5 separate regions of the Homo sapiens genome follow, and regions 1, 2, 4 and 5 are each linked to region 3. The links are contacts of gene promoters, found by promoter capture Hi-C in blood cells and fetal thymus (Javierre and others, 2016). All regions are on one chromosome and are shown on one strand. The core of a region is centred on a gene start or on the middle of the fragment in contact, and the rest is flanking DNA. Distances in the headings are between cores, read along the strand shown.

Region 1 (2,700 bases), core at 36-2,535, 310 kb after region 3:
AAGATAATGTAATTTGAAACATGGTCTAACAATCTGATGTTACCTTCAGAAAGGTGTAGCCTATTAATATAAATAAAAGTTAATGTTGATTAATCAATGCTTGCACCATATAAGGGATCTGAAAATTTGCTAGCTCCTAGAATATTTAAATTATAGCCTGACAAAGCATTCAGTCCAGCGCCATCTGTCTCCATCATAATAACACAAGATTATATATATGTATAATCAAGTCCTCGGCATTGTGGCAAAGTCTTGTAGGAAAATGGTAAATACATCAATTTAACTGGGGGAGTGGGAGAGAAGGTAAGAGCCAGGCTGAATGAGAAGCATGGTTTTAAAGAAAGACAGGCAAGCAATTGGTTAATATAAAAAAAGTTTGTCGTTCCCATATTTGGAGAGATGCCCAGTTCTCCTCCCCCTTTCTGAAAATCACTCGCCATTGGCAGAGCTTCCCATCGAAAGGGAGGCTGATGTTGATGGAGGCTGAAGAGGTGATGCCAAAGTTGGCCACCGGGCAGGTCCCACAGCCCAGCTCCTGGGGCCTTCCAGAGGTTGGCGAAGAGTTAACTTTCCGGAGCGGCTCCCTAGGCGCCGCGCCGCTAGGGTTGTTCCCTAGTTTACGTCTCTGGGCAAAGCCTCTCGGGGAAGGAAAAAAAACAGCGGTAAACCAAAATCCACATATTTGGGCCCCAGTGCTTCCCTCTGGCCCCATAGACACGAGGAGAGGGGAGACACAAGTCAGATTAAGCCCCGCCACGTGGTGGCCAAGCCAGCTGCAGGGCCATCCGGCAGGCCGGGCTGGGGACCCAGGAGGGAGCCCCGCGAGCAAGGATGGGTCCCGAAGTCCCGGGCTTAGCCTACCCGAGGGTGGCGGACGCCTGCACCGCGCGGGAGCGCAGGGTCGAGCGCTGGGTCACCCAGGCGCGCCGAAGCGGGTTGAGTAAAGCAGCAGGCGAGGCTGCAGGGGTGGAGGAAGGGAAAGGAGAGAAAGGGAGCCCGGGCAGGGGTCGCGTTACCTCTCTGGGGACTGCTGCCGCGAGAGCTGGGTGGCGGCAGCCAGCAGCAGGCAGAGTGGCGCCCAGGCGTTCGCGCCCCTCATGGCAGCGTAGACGCTCGGGGTTTGCACCCCACGGCGCGCGCGCCGGCACACACGCCCCTCCGCACCCACCGCGCTCACACCGCCGCTCACACTGGCAGCAGCGCTGGCTCACACCGGCGCTCGGCTGCCCGCGCGCTCCCTCTCACGCGCGCACCGCCGCGGGGCGGCCCAGGTAGCCGGGGGATACGCGGCCGGCAGGGCGGAGGCACTTTTAAAGGCGATTATGGTGCCGTCTGACTCGACGCTTAGTTTCCCCTGAGGAGCTGCTCTGGCAGCCACAGGCCACTGCTGAATATCCCGTTTGTTCTCCGGCGGCAGGAGGGGCGGCTCCGAGGCCAGAGCCGCCCCCTCTCGTGGGGCGGGCGAACGTCTCCTCCCGGCACCCCGGGACCGACGGGTCCTCTCTCGTCCAGCCCTCAGGGACCCCGGGGAGAAGAGGAACCCCTTGCGGAGTGGCACCCCAGCGGCCCGGGCCCCGACGCCCAGAGACGATTCTCAGGGAGGGCTTCTGGTTTTGCTTTGGGGAATGTTTTTCCCAGTTGCTTTTAAATAAAAAGTAATAGCGCTTGCTGGCTGCTGGAAAGCCTGGGGGTCCTTCTTTGTCTCCTTCAAAACCCAGATCCAAGGAAAGAAAGGGAAAAGGGATTTTATTGTATTTTAACTTCTGTGCTTATTCTCCTCTCTCTCTCTCTAGATACTTTTCTTTTTTTTACTGGTATGACAATGACAAGGAAGACAGTCTCTGTGCCGGGATTTAAACACGGGTTTTCAGGCGAGCGATTTCTGTGTGAACTGTCATTAAATGTCAGATAATGAAGACGGAACCAAATCAGCAAATCTCACCATCCCATGTCATGTTCTGAAAATGGTGTTTCTCTGCTTGCATCTCTCTGTTCTTAGACCTTTCCAACAGCATCTTTCTGTGGTATTAACGGGTTAAAATTTACGGAGAATTCGTTTTTCTTAGACGAACAATTCTAGCCTTGTGGAATCAATACTCTCTTTTACTTAATTACAGAAATATAATTTTAAACATTTATTTTGTTAAGAGCTTCCCAATAACCAGGGATTAATAAAAGAATGACAGGAACAGACTAGATTCATAGAGATTTTTAATAATCACCAGCTATGGGAGATACAGCTTAACTTTGATGCCTCACGTTGTTCCTTCTAAATTGTTTTCACCTTTCTAAGCAAGAAAATTAAGTATTAAAGTAGTTCTTATCGAGACTTTATTTCTAATAATGAGCTGTTAAGAATCTAAACACGGGTGGGCGCGATGGCCCACGCCTGTAATCCCAGCACTTTTGGAGGCCGAGGCGGGCGGATCACGAGGTCAGGAGTTCGAAACCAGTCTGGCCAAGATGGTGAAACCCCGCCTCGACTAAAAATACAAAAAATTAGCCAGGTGTTGCGGTGTGCGTCTGTAATCCCGGGTACTCGGGAAGCTGAGGCAGAAGTATCGCGTGAACCCGGGAGGCGGAGGTTGCAGTGAGCCGAGATCACGCCATTGCACTCCAGCCCCGGGCGACAGAGTGAGACTCCATCTCAAAAAAGAAAAAAAAAAAAAAAAGAACCTAAACACTCCTGGCAAGGAAGTA
Region 2 (2,705 bases), core at 9-2,508, 270 kb after region 3:
CTGTCTTTTGCTTTGTTTTTTGTTTTGCACACAACCTCTATTTGTACAATAATCAGAAAGTTATCAAAATATGATGCCACATCTGTAATCTTAAATATAAGCAGGCTCTCTATGAATCACCGAAAAAGTCCTAGCCATGAAAAGAATCTCAAACTAATTTGTTTTTTTCCTGCATGAATAGTGACTATTTGTATAAATGTATAGAGGGTAATTCAAAGCTACGAAACTTGATGAAGTCACTCCCAGAGTGAATGTGGATAGAAAAAGGAAGAGGTCTAAGTATAGAGGCCTGGAACACTCCAATGTCATCAAGTCTGTGAAGAGGTCAAACCACAATAGAGACTGAGTCAACAAGTAGGAGGCAACCAAAGTGTGTGGCGTCTGGAAGCCAGGCGAAGAGAGTATGTCAAGGAGGAATGAATGGGCAACTGAGTTAAGTGCTGCTGCTGAGAAAGACCAGTGGATTTAGCAACACAGAAGTTTAGCAACCAGAAGTCACTGGTAATGCTGACAAAGCTGTTCTGGTGGCACCATGGGGAGAAAACTGGATAAAAGGATCATGAGAAAATGGGGTGAGAGGAAATGGTGACAATAAATATAAACAAGCTTTTCAAGGAGTTTTGCTGTGAAGATGAACAGAATAATATGGGGGTAAGGAAGGGGATATGGGGTCTAAGCAGAGTTTTTGCAATGGGTGTTTCCTAAGGCATGTTTGCATGCTGATGGGAAGGATTCTGTAGAGAGGGCAAAACTGATGAAGCAAGAGAGAGGGAGGATTGCTTAACAGATGTCCTTGAGCAGGCAAAGGGGGATCTGATCTACAGAAGGAACAGCTGGTGGAGTTGGCCTTAGTAGGAGCAGGGACAGTTTTGCCCAATGACAGAAGGGAAGACAGATGTAGGTAGGTCAGTAAATGAGGTGGTGAAAGCATATATAGAATTTTTTTTCTGGATTGCTTTTCTTAGTAAAATAGAAAACAAGGTCATCAGCAGCAAATGTGGAAGAGAGAGGCACTACTGGGAATCTGATAACAGAAGAGAAAGTGAGGAAATGGATTAATGAAATGCAGCAGGAGTACCAGGACTGCTGGGGTCCACTTGAAGTAAATGAATTAAAATTAAGACCTCTCTGCATGGTGGCGATATTTGTTTTTGTTTGTTCGTGGTCTTCTTCCCCAGCCACATTCAGCTCCGTGGGCAAAGGTACAGGGCAGGTGGAGAGTTGGATATAAGCAGTAGGGGAGAGTGGTGAGGTTTGCCAAGGGAGGATATGGCAGGAGAGAAGGACAAGAGAGTTGAAGACATAGGCAAGGGAGTGACCATGATGATGTGCTGTGGAATCCAAACTGGGTTAGGATGGAAATCAGGACGCTGTGGGGTGAGGACAGTAACAACCAAGACTGTGGTGGAGTAAGGACAAAATAACAGTGGAAGTGGGAGGCTGAGGAACTATGGAGGATAAGTTATTTGGCGGAGAAGAGGTTAAAGACCTGAGAAGATCACCCATATAGATATTGAAATTACAGTTGATTAGGACAAGGAAGAGTGTTGAAGACAGTGACAGTGAACCAGGAGTTAAAATTTGCAAGAAGCGAGGAAGACTGTCCAGGAGGCTTTTAGATTATTTCATCAAGGAGAGGAATAGGGAGGTATAATCATGTTTCATTGGCAGGTTCTTGGTTCTCTGACACTACGTAGACAATTCTGTTGACTCTCTCCTGTAGAGAGGTGTTGAAATTAACTACAGGACTTGGATGCTCATTCCCAATAAAATAAATCATTTGTTCCCAAAAGTTTTGTACCTGTTCCCATGGCAATGAAAATTTGAGAATGAGACACAAATATGATCAGCAATAGAAACTGGGTTACATCATTGCAATTTTGAACACATGCTGACCCGAACAACCCCGACAAAGCTTCTTTTGAAAGAAGGATGCAGAGGTGATCTGTACCAGTGTAAGTCTCCTATAACCAGAGACAAATGTCATCTTGCACTGAAGGCCAGAGAGAAATTCTATTGCAAATGAGAAGCATACTGCTGTGAGCCTTTTCAGTATGACACAACATCCGTTCTTCATTTTTTATATGAGTGATCAAGATTGTCTGATGCCCTCTGATGCAAGCTTTGATAAGAGCTCCTGATTGTCATTATAAAGGACTTTAGAGAGCATATTCTCCGAAGATGGCCTTTCCACTTGGAGAATCTAGTCTGTATCCTTGAATTTTCTTTGTTAAGAATAGAAAAAAAATAAAAAAATAAAAAATACAGAAAGATACACAGAATAATATAACACCTGGATACCAACCACGAAATTGACTTTTGTTAACATTTTGTTAATAGATTTTTAAAGTCTCCTTTAATGAAGTAAATAAAACATTTCAGATAAAAATGAGATTTCCTTTGTCTTCATCCCAGGCCCCATTTCCTCCTCCTTCCTCAGAAGCAACCACTGTTACAAATTTAGTGGGTTTCCTTCCATGCTGATCAAAATGTGTGTGTGTGTGTGTGTGTGTGTGTATTTATATATATTTATGTATGTGTGTATATACATATACACACATAAGTATTTATGTATATGTGTATATAATATATATTTTAATATATATTATATATATGTAACCATGCAAAATGCACAGTGACTTTTTGTGTTGTTTTAAAAATTAACAAAAATGGTGCCAGGCTCATGCTTGTAATCTTAATACTTT
Region 3 (2,700 bases), core at 83-2,582:
TGTAAACCAACTTCCTACAATGATCACTTTTCTTCCTCTTCTTTTAGAGAGGTAGAGGTTATTTTATAAACTAAACACAAAGTATACTTGCCACAGATAAGTGGAAAAAATTCACACACTCAAAAATAGTGATGCAGTTACGACAAGAATGGTCCCTTCATTTATCCTTTTATTCATATATTGAGACTAGATTATTTGGATGGCCAACCAGTGGAAATGAACACAACTGCGCTGCAAAAAGAAAGAGAAGTAGCTATCCCATTGGCTTAATGTCAGCTTTGACTTTGTGTGGAAAGTTTTCAAACAGTTTAAGAAATTGGGAAGCAGTTATTCCAAATGATAATTTAACTGCGGTAGCAGCACAAGCTTATTTATTTCTTGTTCGCAGTAGTGTAGAATTAAAACAAACAAAGCAAAACAAGCTCTACCGAGTCTTTAGGCCTGGTTCAGGGAAGCCTGCCTGTGTATTGAAGAGGTGTGAGAGCCATCAACACCTCTCCCTCCTTGTGGTAAGATACTGGTTTTCATGAGGTTTACAGACAACATGCATTTGCAAATGAAATATTAAATTGTCTCCAAATTTTGGCAACACTCTGTGCACGCTGAGATTTTGTGGACCCAGGGGTCTATCTCTCCAATTTCTGACTAAAATAACGGATCGGGAACTGGACGATCAATACGAGGGAGGTCACATCTTCAGTATGTACTATGACTTCACTTCAAAGAAAAAAACTGCCTTTTCCAGCAAGTGATGTCACTTGCAGAAAATGAGAAGCGGTGATTTTCTTTCAAGGGCAGTTTGGGGACAAAATGTAAGGCTAAAAACCAATTCCTCCACGAGTGATCACAAAGAACAGAAACTGATGGGTCAAGTCCCTCGTCTAAGGAAAAAGATTTTCGAGAAGAAAATGAGTGTAGAAAAGTGACCAGAAAGCGATCAGCAGGGACTCTTCCTCCAGCTGCAGGAAGCAAACTCTCGATCGGGGTGAGTGGTAAACCAGGGCCGGCAGACGCCTCTCTCCCCCACGGACCGGCTTCCCGCAGGTTTGTGGCGACTGCCCCATGTGCTATCAACGGGCACTCTGAGGGAGAAGCGCCCAAATCAGCCACGGAGCATCTCCACAAGGGCCGCAGCGGGGGCTTAGGGGATCCCAGCCATAGCGCAGCAGGGGAGGGGAGAGCACGTGAAACCCAAGCCGGAATCAGCGGAGGAGGATGCAGGACCCAGGCTGGGCCTAGCCCTACCTGCCCAGCTCCCGCAGGGCGGGGATCATGGAAGCCAGCTCCAGGCCATGTTCCCCCATGCTGAGGCTGCGAGGCACTAGTCAACCACGCCAACGCGGGTTCCCGGCGTCTCCAAAGCTACCGCTGCCGGAAGAGCGCGGCGCCCGACGGAGCCGTGTGGAGGCCAAAACTCCTCCCGGAAGCCGCTACTGGCCCCGCTTGCCAGGCCCAGCGTCTTTTCTGCATAGGACCCGGGGGAAGCCGGGAAGCCGTTAGGGGGCGGGGCAAGCGGGCGGGCGTGCGTCGGTCAAGTTTCCCGGGTCGCGTCAGGCTTCTTTCTCAGCACCGAGCGAGCGACGTTCGTGAAGCTTTCGTTTTGAGCGGCCAGACTCTGCTGTTCTCAAGCCTGGGAGGCACAGAGAAGCAAGACTTCCGCATCGGGGGAGGATAGGGCTTGAGGGCCGCCAGCCCAGACTCGCTTCACAAATGTGAGAACTATGACAGTCCAGCGAGTAAAGGCCAAGAGTAAACTCCAGGTTTCCCCAGAGTAACGCTCTCACATTTTAAAAGTTCCTCACGTTCCCACCGCTCTTGTCCCTCTTTCTGAGAGATACAGGCCAAAAGGTGGGCTCTCCCTGTTTTTTTCCTTTTAAGCATTTTTTTTCAACTTGAAGTCACTGTTAGGTTTCGTTGAGGACCCTACCAACTTTTAATATTTGAAAATGGGGTTGGAATATATTTGTGTCTCATCAAATCAGCAACAGTACTGTGTGTGGAAATGCCACCATTACGGGCATCCGCAACCTGTGATTTAATTTTTAAAGTAAATCAATGGATTTTGGCAATACACATTTTCTAGCTCAACTCAATTTATTGGAAAGATGACCACCATAAGAGATTGTTGACATGTCAAAGTTATGTAGTTAATCACTCAAAGTCATGCAGTATGTTTACATTTGTTCTTTGGTACATGAGGATAGTTAACCGATACAGTATCTTAAAGAAAAAAGTGATGGAATGACAGCCAAATATGCTCTTGCCTCAAGAACTTTGCATTTGCTGTACTCTCTGCCTTGAACACCACTCTGTCATTGCCCTTTTTCCTTCAGGTGTTTGCCAAATTAACACCAAAGAGCCTCATATAGACTAACATATATACACATTCTGTCTCACCCTCTTTTTTTTGTTAGATACATTGTCTTACTCTGTTGTTCAGGTTCTAGTGCAATGAATGTTGCAATCATAGCTCACTGCAGCCTCAATCTCCCAGGCTCAAGCGATCCTCTCACCTCAGCCTGGGCTCAATTGATCCTCCTGCCTCAGCCTCCTGAGTAGCTGGGACTACAGACATGCCACCACGCCTGGCTAATTATTTTTTGTAGAGACAAGGTCTTGCTATGTTGCCCAGGCTGGTCTCAAACTCTTGGCCTCACACGCTCCTCCCACCTCAGCCTTCCAAAGTACTAGAATTAGAGG
Region 4 (2,700 bases), core at 171-2,670, 450 kb after region 3:
CACCACCATTAAATCCGTACTTGCATGGAATGTCAGAAGAGCAAGAAACAGAAGCTTTTGTAGAGGAACCTAGTAAAAAGGGAGCACTTAAGGAAGAGTAAGATATTTTTCCTTTCTATTATATATTCAGAAAAGTAACTGTAATGGTTGCTTTAATTAATGGTCTTATTAAGATGTTAACCCTAAAATAAATTTTTTTCACTTGTGAATGTTTAAAATAGTAACATCTTTCATCATGTGCTTTATAATTTTAAACATCCTAACAAGTATAGGTGTGTGTCCTGTTGTCCTTGAGTTTTCTCCTGGTAAAATTAGTGATGATCTCTTAAACATGATTGACTTATTTCTTTAGCATTGGAGTACTTCAGATTCTTACAGAAATTATTGGAGGATCCCTAGAATTCTTGCTTCTCTGAATGCAACATAAAGAAGAAAAACTATTGTGTGGCTAGTGGGATCAGATTGTGGCTATGCAAAGCCGCTACATGATAACTTTCACACTTGATTTGCAGTGTGTGGTGAGCTGTGAGATGGCCACCATGGAAGTATGTGTTGTTATTAGTCTCACTTAACAATTGTACAGTGCAGCTAGCTGGTTTAAGAAGCAAAAACATACTTATTAAATGTTCAGAGGACATCCTGTATACCTCATGGGAAAACATTGGCTAAAAGCATTTTTAGAATATAGAATTAAGTACAGACATACTTAGTTTTATTGCGCTTTGACTTACTGTGCTCTGCAGATACAGTGTGTTTTATAAATTGAAGGTTTGTGGCAACCCTAAGTCAAACAAATCTGTTGTCATTATTTTTCGAACAGCATGTGCTTACTTCATGTCTGTCACATTTTCATAATTCTCACAATAGCTCAAACTTTTTCATTATTATTGTATCTGTTATGGTGATCAGTGATCTTTGATTGTTTTGGGGCACCACAAACTATGGTCATATAAGAAGATGAACTTAATCAAAAAAGGTGTGTTCTGACTGTTCAGTGACTAGCTGTTTTCCCTTAGGCCTCCCTATTTCCTGAGACACAACACTATTGAAATTAGGCCAGTTAATAATCCCACAATGGCCTCTTGAGTATTCAGGTGAAAGGAAGAGTCTCACTTCTCTCACGTTAAATCAAAAGCTAGAATGATTAAGCTTAGTTAGGAAGGCATGTCAAAAGATGAGGTTGGCTGAAAGCTAGGCCTCTTGCACCAAACAGTGAGCCAAGTTATCAATGCAAAGGAAGAGTTTTTAAAGGAAATTAAAAGTGCCACTCCAATGAACACATGAATGATGAGGAAGCAAAATAGCCTTATTACTGATAGAAAGTTTCGGTGGTGTGGATAGAAGATCAGACCAGCCATAGCACTCCCTTATGCCAAAGCCTAATCCTGAGCAAGGCCCACTCTCTTCAATTCTGTGGAAACAGGTGAGGATGCTCCAGAAGAAAAATTTGAAGCTAGCAGTGATTGGTTTTTGAGGTTTAAGGAAAGAAGCCATCTTCATAATATAAAAGTTCAAGGTGAAGCAGCAAGTGCTGATGTAGATGCTGTAGCAAATTATCCAGAAGATCTGAGGTCATTGATGAAGGTGGCTACACTAAATCACATTGTCAGTGTAGACAAAGCAGCCTTTTATTGTAAGAAAATGTAATTTAGCACTTTTATAACTAGAGAGGGGAAGTCACTGCCTGGGTTAAAAGCTTCAAAGGACAGGCTGACTCTCTTATTAGGGGCTAATGCAGCTGGTGACTTAAAGTTGAAGCCAGTGCTCATTTACCATTCCAAAAATTTTAGGACCATTAAGAATTTATGCTAAATCAACTCTGCCTGTGCTCTATAAATGGAACAACAAAGCCTGGATGACAGCATATCTGTTTACAGCATGGTTTACTGAATATTTTAAGCCCACTGTTGAGACCTGCTCAATAAAATGATTTTTTTCAAAATATTACTGCTCATTGACAATGTACCTGATCACTGAAGATCTCTGATGGAGATGTGCAAAGAGATTAAGTTGTTTTCATGCCTGTTAACACATTATCCATTCTCTATCCCATTGATCAAGGAGTAATTTTGACCTTTTAGTCTTATTATTTAAGAAATATATTTCATAAGGCTGTGGCTGCCATAGATAGTGATTCCTCCAGTGGGTCTGGGAAAAAGTCAGAAACCTTGTGGAAAGCATTTATCATTCCAAATGCCATTAAGAACATTTGTGGGCCAGGTGTGGTGGCTCACACCTGTAATCCCAGCACTATGGGAGGCCGAGGCAGGAGGATAGCATGAGGCCAAGAGTTCAAGACCAGCCTGAGCAATATAGTGAGACCCCATTTCTATTAAAAAGAAATTTAAAAAAATCTTAAAAATCCGTTTCAGTTTTTTTGCCTATAAAAATCGACATTAACAGGAGCTTGGAAGAAGTTAGTCCCTCATAGATGACTTTGAGGGATTTAAGACTTCAGTAGAGGAAGTAACTCCAGATATGGTAGAAATAGCAAGGGAACTAGAATTAGAAGTAGAGCTCAAAGATGGGACTGAATTGCTGTGATCTCATGATAAAACTTTAATAAATGAGGAGTTGCTTCTTAGGGATGAGCAAATTAAGTGGTTTCTTGAGATGGAATGTATTTCTGATGAAGAAGCTGTGAACATTGTTGAAATGAAAGGATCTAGAATATATATAAAGTTAGTTGATAAAGTAGTA
Region 5 (2,700 bases), core at 167-2,666, 400 kb after region 3:
GCACCCGCCACCATGCCTGGCTAATTTTTATATTGAAAGGTTCTTAAATAAGGAAATGGATGAACAAGTTATGGAATATTATACAACTCTACTAAAGAATAAATTACGCATATATGTGTTGACCTTGAGTGACAAAAACCAGTTCCAGAATAATGACATAACAGTTAACATTTATTGAGCAATTACACCATGCTAAGCCATTTAGATGTGATGTCCTTGTAAAACACTGTTGCAAGGGTTCTCTTTCAACCTTCTCTGCATCCTCCTCCTGGGTGTATCCTGGGCTTTGGCTTTTTCTGCTTTGTTTTATCTGTCTTCCAGAAATGTACTGTCCATTGGTTGCTTTCTCTTCTGTTCTCTTTGATGTTTTAAATTTATCCACCCCTACCACTTTTAAAGATATCAGAAATATCTACACAGTGATGGTGTCTGGAACAGCAGGGGGCAAATGTGTATGTTTGGTTCACTCTCTCGAGCCAGAAGGCTTTAATTTCATGTTGTTAAATAAGAAACAGGGAAAAAAACAGCCCTACATATGCATGCATTGATTTATGTAGATTTGTATGAGGGAAGAGGAAGATATCAGAGTTAAACATGAGAGTTAACATTTGATTTGACATGTAGGAAACCTATTGTCCTACAGTGGAAAGCCCTGATGATTTTGTAAATGACATTGTTTCACTTACAATTGTGGATAAAACCTGAATCAACAGGCACTCTGTCTTTTGTCATCATACTACTTTGTCAGTTTTGAATTATATACTCACAAAGAAGGCAGGGTCCCATAACTACTAAAAACAAGTTATCTTAATTAAGGCATTCAAGCCAGATGAAGTCTTTTAATATCCCAATAGCTCAGACTAAATCATATTGTTTTAGGACTTGTCGGCTAGGGCTGCCATAACAAAGTACCATAGACTGCGTGGCTTAAACAACTGGTATTTATTTTCTCACAGTTCTAGGGCGCAGAAGTCCCAGGTCAAGGTCTGGTAGGGTTGGTTTCCAAGGAGCCTTCTCTCCCTGGCTTGCAGACAGCTGCCTTTTCACATGGCAGAGAGAGGGAGCTCTGGGATCTCTTCCTCATCTTATAAGGGCACCAGCTCTACTGCATCAGAGCCCTACTCATATGACCTCATTTAACCTTTATCACTTCCTCTCAAGCTCTATTTTCAAATACAGCCACATGGGGATTAGAGCTTCATCATAGGAATTTTGTGGGGGACATCATTCAGTCCATAGCAACTATTCCTCAGATTTTTATTTTAAATTTAAAAAAGATCTATCGAAAAAAGCCTGTGAGAAAAGGAAAAAGAAGTTATGTTTACGTACACCTTGGTGGAATATACTGAGAGCATAAGGAGATTTTAAAACTCCCTTAGTCCTCTAAACATGTATATGTTTGTAAAATTATTTTTGTTGCTTTTCTGCTAGCCAGTGGAATAAGCTCATTAAAAGTCAGTGGAGCAGCATGTCCCATTATCAGCACACTAAACCACAGGATTAACGAATATTCTAGCAAAAGCAATCACATTTATTAATGTCCCCATGGAGCTGTGGTCTGAAACAAAAAACTTAACCATAATAATTTGGTATCCATTAATCAAATAAATTAATTCTTCCATCTACTGTTCCTAGTCTATTTCAAATTTCCTGATAATAAAAGGGGGGAAAACGGAAAAGAAATAACTTTATTTTTAAAAAGAATAACAGTGGGAAAAGAATAAACCCAAAGGAGTGTAAACAATTAATTTGCATTAGTTGGCAACTGATGATTCTGGCAAAACCACATGCAAAGAGCTAATGAACCCGTTGACTCCACTGATAACCACATTCTGTAGTTGGAGGAGGTAGTAGGAATTTAGAATCAAAATGATTGCCTGGAATGGCCGACAGGGGTACATGAAGACAGACGGTAAATAAAGGGGAAGGTTTTTTCCATTCATTCACCCAATATAATTATCTCCTTTTTACCAGTGCTAGGTGCTTTTCAAAAATGATCTCATTTAATCCTCTCGCTAACCCTTACAGATGAAGAAATCGGATGAGAGGGAGAGGAGAGGAGGGAGGGCTGGGTTGGGGGGAAGGGAGAAAAAGAGAGAGGGAGACACACACACACACACACACAGAGAGAGAGAGAGGGAGAGAGAGAGAGAGAGAGACTGTCCTGACCAAAGGAACACAGCTTGCAAGTCGGGGAGCAGAGTTAGAAATTCAGAGCAATCTGACTTCAAAGCCTCTATTCTCTTCCCTGTCACACTGTAGGTGGACTGTTGTTTATACCTGCAATTATTTGCTTAATCTCTGTATCCCTTCTTAGAGAGTAAGAGGGCAGAGGCTGTGTCTGTCTTGTTGATTCTTGTGTCCATCATTGCACTCTGCAGACTCCTCTCAGTGGTCTCTGTTGGGAGCAGGACACTTCCTGTTACATTTACTTCCCATTTGGTGCAACCTGCTAAGGATTTATTCATTTCACCTCAGCCAGGCCGCTGATGCCTGTTCTCAGATTGCCTGGTCTCCTGCCTTCGCCCCTTCACTTTAAACCATCTTCCGTGCAGCAGCCAGTGGTCTTCTAAAATGTAAATCAGATAATTTTGACCTTAGAATAAACTGCAAAACCTTACCATGGCCTCCATGCCCTATTCCAACCCCTGCCCCCACATCTGCCCTGAAGACTCTGACCTCCCCATCACTACTCTCTGG

Evidence for each region. Contacts are between HindIII fragments. The CHiCAGO score rates a contact against its expected background, and 5 or more counts as called.
Region 1: a contact is called between the fragment with the promoter of PCOLCE2 here and the fragment with the promoter of ATR in region 3, in 1 of 17 cell types (M2 macrophages). The highest score is 5.3, in M2 macrophages.
Region 2: a contact is called between a fragment that was not itself captured here and the fragment with the promoter of ATR in region 3, in 1 of 17 cell types (M2 macrophages). The highest score is 6.1, in M2 macrophages.
Region 4: a contact is called between a fragment that was not itself captured here and the fragment with the promoter of ATR in region 3, in 2 of 17 cell types (naive CD8 T cells and erythroblasts). The highest score is 6.1, in naive CD8 T cells.
Region 5: a contact is called between a fragment that was not itself captured here and the fragment with the promoter of ATR in region 3, in 7 of 17 cell types (naive CD4 T cells, endothelial precursors, total CD8 T cells and 4 more). The highest score is 6.8, in naive CD4 T cells.

Annotation. Positions count from the first base shown.
Region 1 is chr3:142,887,798-142,890,497 of GRCh38, forward strand. It overlaps PCOLCE2 (procollagen C-endopeptidase enhancer 2), which reads right to left and starts at 1,286. Exons shown (of 9, transcript NM_013363.4): 1 at 1,017-1,286. The coding sequence starts at 1,099. It overlaps LOC124909443 (a long non-coding RNA gene), which reads left to right and starts at 467. Exons shown (of 2, transcript XR_007096122.1): 1 at 467-662; 2 at 1,794-2,700. RefSeq lists a silencer at 1,229-1,278. The HindIII fragment of the contact is 10,419 bases long and covers 1-2,700 here.
Region 2 is chr3:142,850,158-142,852,862 of GRCh38, forward strand. The region is part of intron 2 of PCOLCE2 (procollagen C-endopeptidase enhancer 2); the gene reads right to left. Among named protein-coding and RNA genes, the nearest start is that of PCOLCE2, 38 kb to the right of the region's middle. The HindIII fragment of the contact is 1,309 bases long and covers 605-1,913 here.
Region 3 is chr3:142,577,401-142,580,100 of GRCh38, forward strand. ATR (ATR checkpoint kinase) reads right to left here and starts at 1,333. Exons shown (of 47, transcript NM_001184.4): 1 at 1,246-1,333. The coding sequence starts at 1,304. RefSeq lists enhancers at 1,124-1,283, 1,584-1,683. The HindIII fragment of the contact is 1,226 bases long and covers 365-1,590 here.
Region 4 is chr3:143,028,550-143,031,249 of GRCh38, forward strand. It overlaps U2SURP (U2 snRNP associated SURP domain containing), which reads left to right. Exons shown (of 28, transcript NM_001080415.2): 16 at 1-97. Among named protein-coding and RNA genes, the nearest start is that of U2SURP, 28 kb to the left of the region's middle. The HindIII fragment of the contact is 547 bases long and covers 1,148-1,694 here.
Region 5 is chr3:142,980,227-142,982,926 of GRCh38, forward strand. All of the region lies in intron 2 of PAQR9-AS1 (PAQR9 antisense RNA 1), which reads left to right. Among named protein-coding and RNA genes, the nearest start is that of PAQR9-AS1, 18 kb to the left of the region's middle. The HindIII fragment of the contact is 4,375 bases long and covers 1-2,700 here.